Regions from separate parts of the Homo sapiens genome. Here region 1 is linked to region 2. The links are contacts of gene promoters, found by promoter capture Hi-C in human tissues and cell types (Jung and others, 2019). All regions are on one chromosome and are shown on one strand. The core of a region is centred on a gene start or on the middle of the fragment in contact, and the rest is flanking DNA. Distances in the headings are between cores, read along the strand shown. Region 1 has its middle 34 kb from the start of OGDHL. Region 2 holds the start of OGDHL (oxoglutarate dehydrogenase L).

The links. Contacts are between HindIII fragments. The study calls those that stand out against the background at their distance.
Region 1: a contact is called between a fragment that was not itself captured here and the fragment with the promoter of OGDHL in region 2, in 1 of the 25 tissues and cell types used here (stomach).

The regions. Positions count from the first base shown.
Region 1 is chr10:49,793,777-49,798,835 of GRCh38, reverse strand. No RefSeq gene overlaps it. Among named protein-coding and RNA genes, the nearest start is that of OGDHL, 34 kb to the right of the region's middle. The HindIII fragment of the contact is 7,341 bases long and covers 1-5,059 here.
Region 2 is chr10:49,760,770-49,765,653 of GRCh38, reverse strand. It overlaps OGDHL (oxoglutarate dehydrogenase L), which reads left to right and starts at 3,331. Exons shown (of 23, transcript NM_018245.3): 1 at 3,331-3,415. RefSeq lists a silencer at 3,371-3,580. The HindIII fragment of the contact is 26,824 bases long and covers 1-4,884 here.

The DNA.
Region 1 (5,059 bases), core at 432-2,931, 35 kb before region 2:
GAAGTCAATCCCCTCCCTATGGTCTAGCCCCTCTATCAAACATTGATATGAGTTCAGTTCCTATAGTTTCGCTTTTTCCAGAATGTGATGGAGTCATTCATTCATCTTGAATGCATCATTTATCTTTTTATCTAACTTCTTTCACTTAGCACACATTTTTTGAGAGTGATCTATGTTGTAGCATATCAGTTATCAGTAACTCATTCCTATTACTGAGCAGTATTCCATTGTATAGAGGTACCATAATTTGTTTATTCATTCACCAGTTGATGGACACTGGGTTGTTTCCAGGTTTTCGTGGTTATGAATAAAGCCGCTAGAAACATTTGGGCTTTGTGTGGATATGTATTTTCACTTCCCTTGGGTAAAACCCCAAAAGTCGGATGGTTGGGTTGTATAGTCAACTTTAAAAGAAACTGCCAAAGTGCTTTCCAATGTGGCTGCACTATTTTGTCCTTTCGCCAGCAGTATATGAGAATGGTATTTGCCCTGAATACTCACCCACACTTGGTATCCTTGGGTTTCTTAATTAAATTAAATTTATTTATTTATTTATTTTTGAGACAGAGTCTAGCTCCATCGCCCAGGCTGGAGTGCAGTGAAGTGATCTCAGCTCACTGTGATCTCTGACTCCCAGGCTCAAGTGATCCTCCTGCCTCAGCCTCCTAAGTTGCTGAGACTACAGGAGTGTGCCTCCATGCACGGCTAACTCGAGTATGTTTTATAGAGATGGGATTTCACCATGTTGCCCAGGCTGGTCTCAAACTCCTGAGCTCAAGCATTCTGCCTACCTTGGCCTCCCAAAGTGCTCGGATTACAGGCATGAGCCACCATGCCCGGCCAGGTTTCTTAATTTTAGCTAAACTCACTGGAATTATTATTAAATTTTAAATATTCTTTATGTTTTCTGGATATAAATCCTTTATCAGATATGTGTTTGGCAAATATGTTATTCAGTCAGTGTCTTATTTTTTCATTTTCTTAACAGTGTCTTTCAACAGGCTTTTTAAAAGTAAGGTAAAGTAAAATTTATTTCAAAAATGTAATGGCCTGTGCCACCTGTGTCCTATCTAATACATTTTTGCCTGACCAAAGTTCACAGAGATTTTCCTCCTATATTTTCTTCTAAAAGTTTGGAGTTTTAGGTTTTAAATTTAAGTCTAAGATCCATTTCAAGTAAATTTTTGTATATGTGATAAAGTAGGGGTCAGGGTTCTTTTTTTTTTTGCATAAATGTTCATTTATTTCAGCATCACTTGTTGAAAAGACTTCTTTCCTCATTGAATTGCCTTGGGAACTTCATCAAAAATTAATGAAGGTGCTGGGCAGGGGGGCTCACGCCTGTAATCTCAGCACTTTGGGAGGCTGAGGCAGGTGGATCACGAGGTCAGGAGATGGAGACCATCCTGGCTAACATGGTGAAACTCCATCTCTACTAAAAAGACAAAAAAATTAGCTGGGTGTAGTGGCGGGCGCCTGTAGTCCCAGCTACTAGGGAGGCTGAGGCAGGAGAATGGCATGAACCCAGGAGGGGAGCTTGCAGTGAGCCGAGATCGCACCACTGCACTCCAGCCTGGGTGACAGAGCGAGACTCCGTCTCAAAAAAAAAAAAAAAAAAATTAATGAAGGTGTGTGAATCTATCTCCAGACTCCATAAACCAAAAATAAAATTCTAAGCCCCCTAACCATCTTAATGGACCCCTCTTCCAGGCCAAGGGTGTTCCAAAGTTAACCTGAAAAATTACTTCAGTCTGGGGGTGGTTCTTCGCACCTGTAATCCGAGCACTTTTGAAGGCCAAGGCAGGTGGATCACTTGAGCTCAGTTCAAGACCAGCCTGGGCAACATAGTAAAACCCCATCCCCACCAAAAATACAAAAAAATTAGCTGGGCATGATGGCTCACACCTGTGGTCCCAACTACTCGGGAGCCTGAGATGCGAGAATTGCTTGAACCTGGGAGGTGGAGGTTGCAGTGAGCCAAGATTGTGCCTCTGTACTCCAGCCTGGGCAACAGATGAGACCTTGTCTCAAAAAGACAAAACCAAACCAAAAAAACCTAGTTCAGGCCGTGATGGGAAGGGTAGCCAGACATGCCTCGTTTATACCCCCTCCCTTTTGGAATTACTGATAAACCTCTTTTAAGTCTGATAAGAAATATTTACAATCTGTTCTCTCTGAAACCTGCTACCTGGAGGCTTCATCTGCATGATAAAACCCCTTATCATAACCCAAACTTTCCTTTCCATTGATAATAACCCATTGCTAATCAGAAAAATTTTATTTTGTTTTATTTTATTTATTTTTGGGACGGAGTCTTGCTTTGTTGCCCAGACTGGAGTGCAGTGGCACGATCTCCACACAGTAGAACAGTGGTTGCTCACTGCAACCTCTGCCTCCTGGGTTCAAGCGATTCTCCAGCCTCAGCGTCCTGCGTAGCTGGGATTACAGGTGCGCACCACCACGCCCAGCTAATTTTTGTATTTTTAGTAGAGATGGGGTTTCACCATGTTGGCCAGGCTGGTCTTGAACTCCTGACCTCAAGTGATCTTCCTGCCTCAGCCTCCCGAAGTGCTGGTATTACAGGCATGAGCTATGGCACCTGGGTGCCAGTTAGAAAATTTTTAAGTCTACCTATGACCTGGAAGTCTTCCCACCACTCCCTGTTCAATGTAGATTGAACCAATGTAAATCTTACACGTATTTGAATGATGTCTCACGTCTCCCTAAAATGTATAAAACTAGGCTGCACGATGACCACCTTGGGCACATGTTCTCAGGATCTCCTCGGGCTGTCACTCATATTTGGCTCAGAACAAATCTCTTCAAATATTTTACAGGGTTTGGCTCTTTTTGTCAACAGTAATTTGGTGCCCAAACACGTGGGGCCTCAGAGAAGATTCATGACCCAGAAGGAGTTGCCTGTTCTTGGAGCTAAGGTACCAGCAGGGGCCCATTGAAACCTTCCCGACTTCGAGCTTCTCCTCCAGTGGAACTGGGAAGTCTTCACGAGTCCTGGACCTCCCTTTGGTTTATAAATGATCCTTGATTTATTTTGAGCTGGTTTTTTTTTTTTTTCCGCCTAGGAAATTGTTTAGGATCCTAATTCTAGTTCAGAGTTGCATTCTAAAGGGTCTTCTCCATTGCTTTTTCTCCCAAAATTAAGCTCAATTTTCTTGTCTGTGCATTTGCATGAGCAACTGAACTGCCCTTTTCATAGATAAATGAGAGTCTGAGCTCCTTAGCTCTGAAGAGAGAGGGGATTTTGCTCCTCTCAGCCTGAAGGTGACCCTAGATGACAAGGGGCTGGAGTGGGAGCCTCTAAGGGATTGACTCCTTGTAATATGCAGCGGCCCTGCAGCAGGGAATCCTCCAACAAAATTAGTTTCAAAAGCACACCCAGGAAATGCATATAAGAGCTGATAACTCTGTGTTTCAAGCCCTCTTGGAGATGACAGACCTCCGGAGAGGGAAACTGACACACATTAGCGGGCAGAAACGACTCAGTAGTGACACACTGGAGTCCCGCCCACAAGCAGCACATTTTGAGCCACCATACTAAACCCTAGGCCACAGCTCAGTTCCTCCTTAAAAAAAAAAAAAAAGTGGGACACAAATAATCTAAGAATGAGGAAAAAAAAAAAAAACAACAACCGCCTTTTGGACAGCCCATTGGTTTTATGGCAGCTCTACTTGCAAGTGTTTGTACGAAATAAAAAAAACGTCTGGCTGGGTGCAGTGGCTCACACCTGTAATCCCAACACTTTGGGAGGCTGAGGTGGAAGGATGCTTGAGCTCAGGAGTTCGAGCTCAAGACAACATGGTGAGACCTGGTCTCTACCAAAAAATAGAAAAATTAGCCGGGCATGATGGCAGGTGCTGTAATCCCAGCTACTCAGGAGGCTGAGGCGGGAGAATCGCTTGAACCTGGGAGGTGGAAATTGCAGTGAGCTGAGATCACGCCACTGCACTCCAGTCTGGACAACAGAGAGAGACCCTGTCTTAAAAAAAAAAAAAAAAAGAAAGAAAGAAAAAAGAAAGAAAAGTAAACGAAAAGTCCAAAGGCACGCCAGGTTTTCTAGTAGTCGAGCTGGTTACATACTATGGTCTGTTGTGCACATTTTGAACTGATGGGTAAATTACATCACGGAAAAATTCAGAGCCCAATGGTCCACCTGCAACTACGGAGTTCTTAAGTTCTCTATTTCTCTGTTTTATTTTTTGCTGCTTAAAATCTGTTGTTACTATTCTGCTGAGATTAAAAAAAATCACTGCTTGGATTCAACCATTTTATTTGGCTTTTTTTTTTTTTTTTTTTTTTTTTTTGAGAAGGGTCTGGCTCTGTTACCCAGGCTGGAGTGCAGTGGCATGATCTCAGCTCATTGCAACCTCTGTCTCCCCGGTTCAAGCGGTCCTCCCAACTCAGCCTCCTGAATAGCTGGGACCACAGGTGCCCACCACCATGCCTGGCTAATTTTTTTTTTTTTTGTATTTTTTTGTAGAGACGGGGTTTCACTGAGTTGTCCAGGCTGGTCTGGGACTCCTGGGGCTCAAGCGATCTGCCCACTTTGGCCTACCAAAGTATCGGGATCATAGGCATGAGCCACTGTGCCAGGCCATTTGTTTGTTTTTGTAAACTGGTGAGTTCGTATTAATATCTCATGTCTAGAATTCTGAAGTAAAAGCAACAGGATTTTTGTATGAGTGGTATGTGTGTTTATGTATATGTACATGTACTTTATGTGTTGTGGCCACAATGTACCAAATTGGCTTAAAGTTAAAGAGTACTCATAAATAATAAACCCAAATGTTTTTCAACTTCATGTGACATAAGTAAAATATTTAATAAATAAGCCAGCTTTAAAATTATTAGTAAATTTTAGATGTGTCTTAAGAATTGTCAGCATTTTTGTTTCCATTGAATGATGGAAGCAGTTTCAAACTTATCCCTGCCAAATACTATAAGATGTCAAAATTTGGTATAAGAGTTATAAAACTGTAAACTCAGTCCAAAACAAAATGATCTTTACTTGTGTAATTTTTGTTGTTGCTTTTTTTTGGG
Region 2 (4,884 bases), core at 2,082-4,581:
AAAAAGAATACAAAATAAGAAACATATAAAAAGAAACATATAAAAACATATAAAAAGATTTTCAGGCCGGGTGCGGTGGTTCATGCCTATAATCCCAGCACTTTGGGAGGCCAAGGCGGGCAGATCACTTGAGGTCAGGAGTTCAAGACCAGCCTAGTCAACATGATGAAACCCTGTCTTTACTAAAAATACAAAAATTAGCTGGGCATGGTGGTGTGTGCCTATAGTCCCAGCTACTTGGAAAGCTGAGGCAGGAGAATAGCTTGAATCCAGGAGGCAGAGTTTGCAGTGAGCCAAGATCACGCCATCGCATTCCAGCCTAGGTGACAGAGCGAGACTCCACCTCAAAAAAAGAGAGATTTTCAAACTCGCTTATCAGTTTTATGCTAACTAAAACAAAATGTGATTTTTCACCTATCAGACTGGCATAAATGAAAGAAAACTGATAATAAATCTTGGCAAGGATGTAAGGGAGTGGGAACTCAAAAACACTAATGAGGAAGTATTCAGTGGAACGGTCTTACTAGATATTTATTATACATATTAAACTGCAAAGAATATATATCTTTTGACCCATTGTTAAACTTAATTTAGAAATCAGGCTGGGCATGGTGGCTCACTCCCATAATCCCAGCACTTGGGAGGCCAAGGTGGGGGATGATGAGGTCAGGAGTTCAAGACCAGCCTGGCCAACATGATGAAACTCCATCTCTACTAAAAATAAAAAAATTAGCGAGGCATGGTGGTGGGAGCCTGTAATCCCAGCTACTCAGGAGGCTGAGGCAGAAGAATTGCTTGAACCTGGGAGGTGGAGGTTGCAGTGAGCTGAGATCCAGCCACTGCACTCTAGCCTTGGTGACAGAGCAAGACTCCATCTTGAAAAAAAAAAAAAAAAAGAAAAAAAGAAAGAAAGAAAGAAAGAAAGAGAAATCAATGTTACCATAGTAGTTTTGCATGTACTAAAGGGAATATATAGGAGGACTCTTTTCTCCTTTTTTTTCTGTAAATGTCAAAAGAAATGGAAATGTTCATTCAATGGGAGAGAAGTGACATACAGTCACCATACATCCCTATAATGAATACAACATACCCATGAAAAAGAATGAGGTGGTCCTACACATACTGAGTTTAAATAAAAATCTTCAAGACAAGGGAAAAAAAGAAACAAGTCGTGGAACTATATTCTAGTGTGATCCATTTCATATTTTTATGTATATGTTTGTAGAAGCATATGGATATAAATACATAAACAATTTTGTAAAAATGTTTGCCAAACTGGCCAGTAGTTATCTCTGGAAGGAAAAAAAAGAGGTGAGGTTGGGGCAGGTGGAAGGGGGCTTTTCACATTTTGTTCTGTATCCTTCTGTATCATTTAAGTTCTGTACAACTAGAATAAATAAAAACTTCCATGTTCTGACACACACACACACACACACACACACACACACACACACACGCCACAGGCATGGGAAAAAAAGAAAGGTGTCTGTTTCTGAAGATCTCTGCAAAGCCTACAGCCACTGCCACTAATCCTCTCAGGCTTCTGAGAATGGCAGCCACCCTCATGGGAGCGTTGATTGCCCCAAATGTTTGCTTTAATCAATGCAATTAGCAGAACACCAATTAGGCTGGAAGGCTGAAAGGCTCTGAAGCCTTTTGATTTGCAAGAGCCTTGTTCCTGCCTGCTGCTCTGTGTCAGGCTTTCCATCTTTCTTAATCGGTGACTCTGACTTGTAAACTTTTCCACTATTACCCCAAACTGCAGCTTCTCCTTTTCCCTAGCTCACTGAGAAGTTCCACTGTGCCCAAGTCACTAAAGCCAGACACCTGTGAGTTATCTATGTCTCCACCCTCATATCTGGTCAACCACTAAACCCCGTGGAGCTGATCCCCGTAAGTCTCTCAAATCTGGCCACCTTACTCCGTCTCTACTGCAAGTACATTACTGCCTCTCACCCGGAATTTGAATTTTGAAAAACAGAAGAGCCTTGAAGAGACAGTTCCTCTATGGCTCAGCCCTGCTTCCTGAAGTAAATTTTCAGCTTTCCTCTGATTCTGTGAGTTGCCTTATATACAACCTTCATATCAACTCGTTTTCGGCTGAAGCTAGCCAGGTCATTTTTGGTGCTTGTGTCCAAAGAATTCCCAATGAACCCTGCCCTTCTGCACCAGATAAAATCTTACTCATCCTTCAGGATCCAAGTCAAGTGTCCATTTACTCACTCAGTCATTCATTCAACAAATATTTACTGAAAAATACCATGATAGTGCTGTGTTAAGTGCTGAAGATTCTTGACCACATGTATCCCTAACTGTCTCCAAATAAAGAACTTTTGGGAGACTTCAGGTGCAGAAGTTAGTTGTATTCCTTTCTTCGTGGCACTCTGTCAGCAGTGATCTGGGTAATTGATTAATTACCTCATATCCACATTCCCCATCCTCCTCCCTCGACAAGCAACCATATTAATTGGTTTGATATGTACTTGAATATATTCTTGTGAAGTGCATACTGTAGTTTTGAGATTAAAATTCAAGAGTGTAAGTGTAGAAGCAGAGAAGCCAGTTAGGAGGCTGCTGCGATAATCCAGGAGAGATTTGATGGCAACTTGAACCACAGGTATGTTATGTTCCTATACAAGAAATCCCTGCATTTAAATGAGAACAAAACCCAACAGAAAGCTGAAAAAAATACAACAGAAAACCCCAAACTAACAAACAACGGGAGATGCAAATGGTTGATAACCAGAGAAATGCAGATTAAAACAATAACAGGACATTGCATCTGCTATTCTGATAATAATTAGAAAGTTGATCTCTATCCCAGAGAAAGTTCCACGCAGGATCCTAAGGGAATGTGTATGAAGAAGTTCATTGCAGCCTTGTTTGTGGCCACGGGGTGGTGAGGACAGCCTGGGTCACCATCAGTGGGAGGATGAATGGGTAAAATGTGTATCAGATTTGGGGTAAGCACTTTTCACGCATTATCTCATCTTTTTTTCAAAACATCCCTAAGATAGTGGAACTTTTCATAGCATTCCCATTTTACAGACGACAAAACAAAACCTATCCTCTCCTACACACAAAGGCTGCTTGTCGTCTGGTACATTCGTCCTAGTTTTAGGACGAGCACACGGGGTTCAGGGCCTCAGCCCCGTTCTGCGGTCTCAGAGAGGAGTCCCCCCTTCGGCCGTGGGCGACCTCGGGCCTGGGCCGCCAGCACCGTGGACAGCGCCAGGAGCGGGGCGGGGCATCCATGGAGACGTCACGACGCGCGGAGTCTCAGGGGCGCGCGCCCGTGGGCGGCTGCGTCACGTGACCCAGGTAATTGGCACGGCGCGCGCGCACCCCTTCCGCGCAGCCCCCTGACCTGCAGCCTCCGGACCTCGCTGCAGCGCGGACCCGGCCCGCCCGCCCGGTGAGCGCGGCGGCCCGCCCCCTCCCGGTCCCTGCGCCGCTGCTTCTCCTGCCGTCCTGGGGACCGGCCCCACAGCTCCTCTCTCCTGGGTCCTGGGGCGCCGCTGCCCGCAGCCCTGAGTCTGGCCCCGCCGGGGGGAGGGGGAGGAGGAACAGACTGTGACCTTGGCTCTGACCTTGGCTGGCCGTGGCCTCCCCCGGGACCCCCAGCCCATCGCGCGCGTACCACCCGGCTAGTCCAGGGTCCTGCGCAGAGGAGCGGGTGCTCGCGGTGGGTTTCTCCAGCCCGAGGACTTCAGACTGCCCCGCGCCTTCCGTGGCCAGGGGAGGGCCCGGAGCTGCGAGGGCTGTGCGGGGGATGGGGAGGGTCAGCGCTGTGCACCTGGCGGGACCCATAGGCAGCTTCGGACTACCAAGGAGCCTAATAGACGGTTTTAACCGCGGTCTCCGATTACAGATGAGAAAACTGAGGCCTGAGAGAGGGCGGCATGGCCTGAGGTCGCTGCTTGCATGGGATGCGCTTCTTCCGCCCCCCGGGAGATGTGGGAGGGGGACGGGGTAATCCCGAGGCCACAGCAGGCTGCAGTACGCATTCGCCGAACCGGAGAGACCCTTTGACGCCCCTCGGCCACCTGGCTCAAGCAGGCCCTAGCAGCCCCTCCCCAGTGTCTTGGAACAGGCCCCAACTAAATAGAATTGCGGTTTGTTGCTGAGCAAAAGCTCATCTGCTTCTCAGAAAGTGGGGTCAGAGTAGACCTGCTGCTGAGAGAATCCAGGCTCTGCTGCTGCCCAGCTTGGAGGGCCCTCTGGGGAGAACCCTTCCCGGCCTCTGTTTACTGATCTCTGCAATGGGTGCATTAGGGAGTAGTCCTCACTAGGGCACCCCAGACAGGGTTGTGTGTGTGGGAGTCTTAGTGGCCATGGTGTCGGCAGTTTTCTGGGGTTGGGTTGAGGTTCTGAGGTTGGGTTGGGGATGCTATGTGACCTTGTCCTCAGAGAAGAGACCCCCAAGAGATACCCAGGGCAACTCTGCTGGAGTCTGGACTGGGCAGGGGGTTGCACAGGGCACCTGACTCTCACTCCTTGTTGCTGTCCTTGACTGTATGGGCAGGAACTAGTAGGGCTGGCTTGGGCTCTGGCTCTAGATACTGAGCCCTCATGCCCTGCTGGGATGCAGGTGGGGGTGGGTGGCAGGCTGCCCTCCTGCCAGGCTGGGTCAAGGTCACAACAGTGCCCAGTGGCCAACCCAGACTGTTTAGTGTTTATAAAACAGTGTTCCTGCACCGGGCCATTCTGGACACAGCCAGACTTTGTCCCTATCTGGCCCAAACTGCCCCATTCCCCTGTGGGGGTGGGAGTGGCGCTGGCAGAGGGAGCAGCTCTGGCTCAGCTGATGGGAACTGCATCGCTAAGAGAAATCTGGCTTACATATTGACTGCAGTGATCAGGGCACAGTCGCTGGAACCCCAC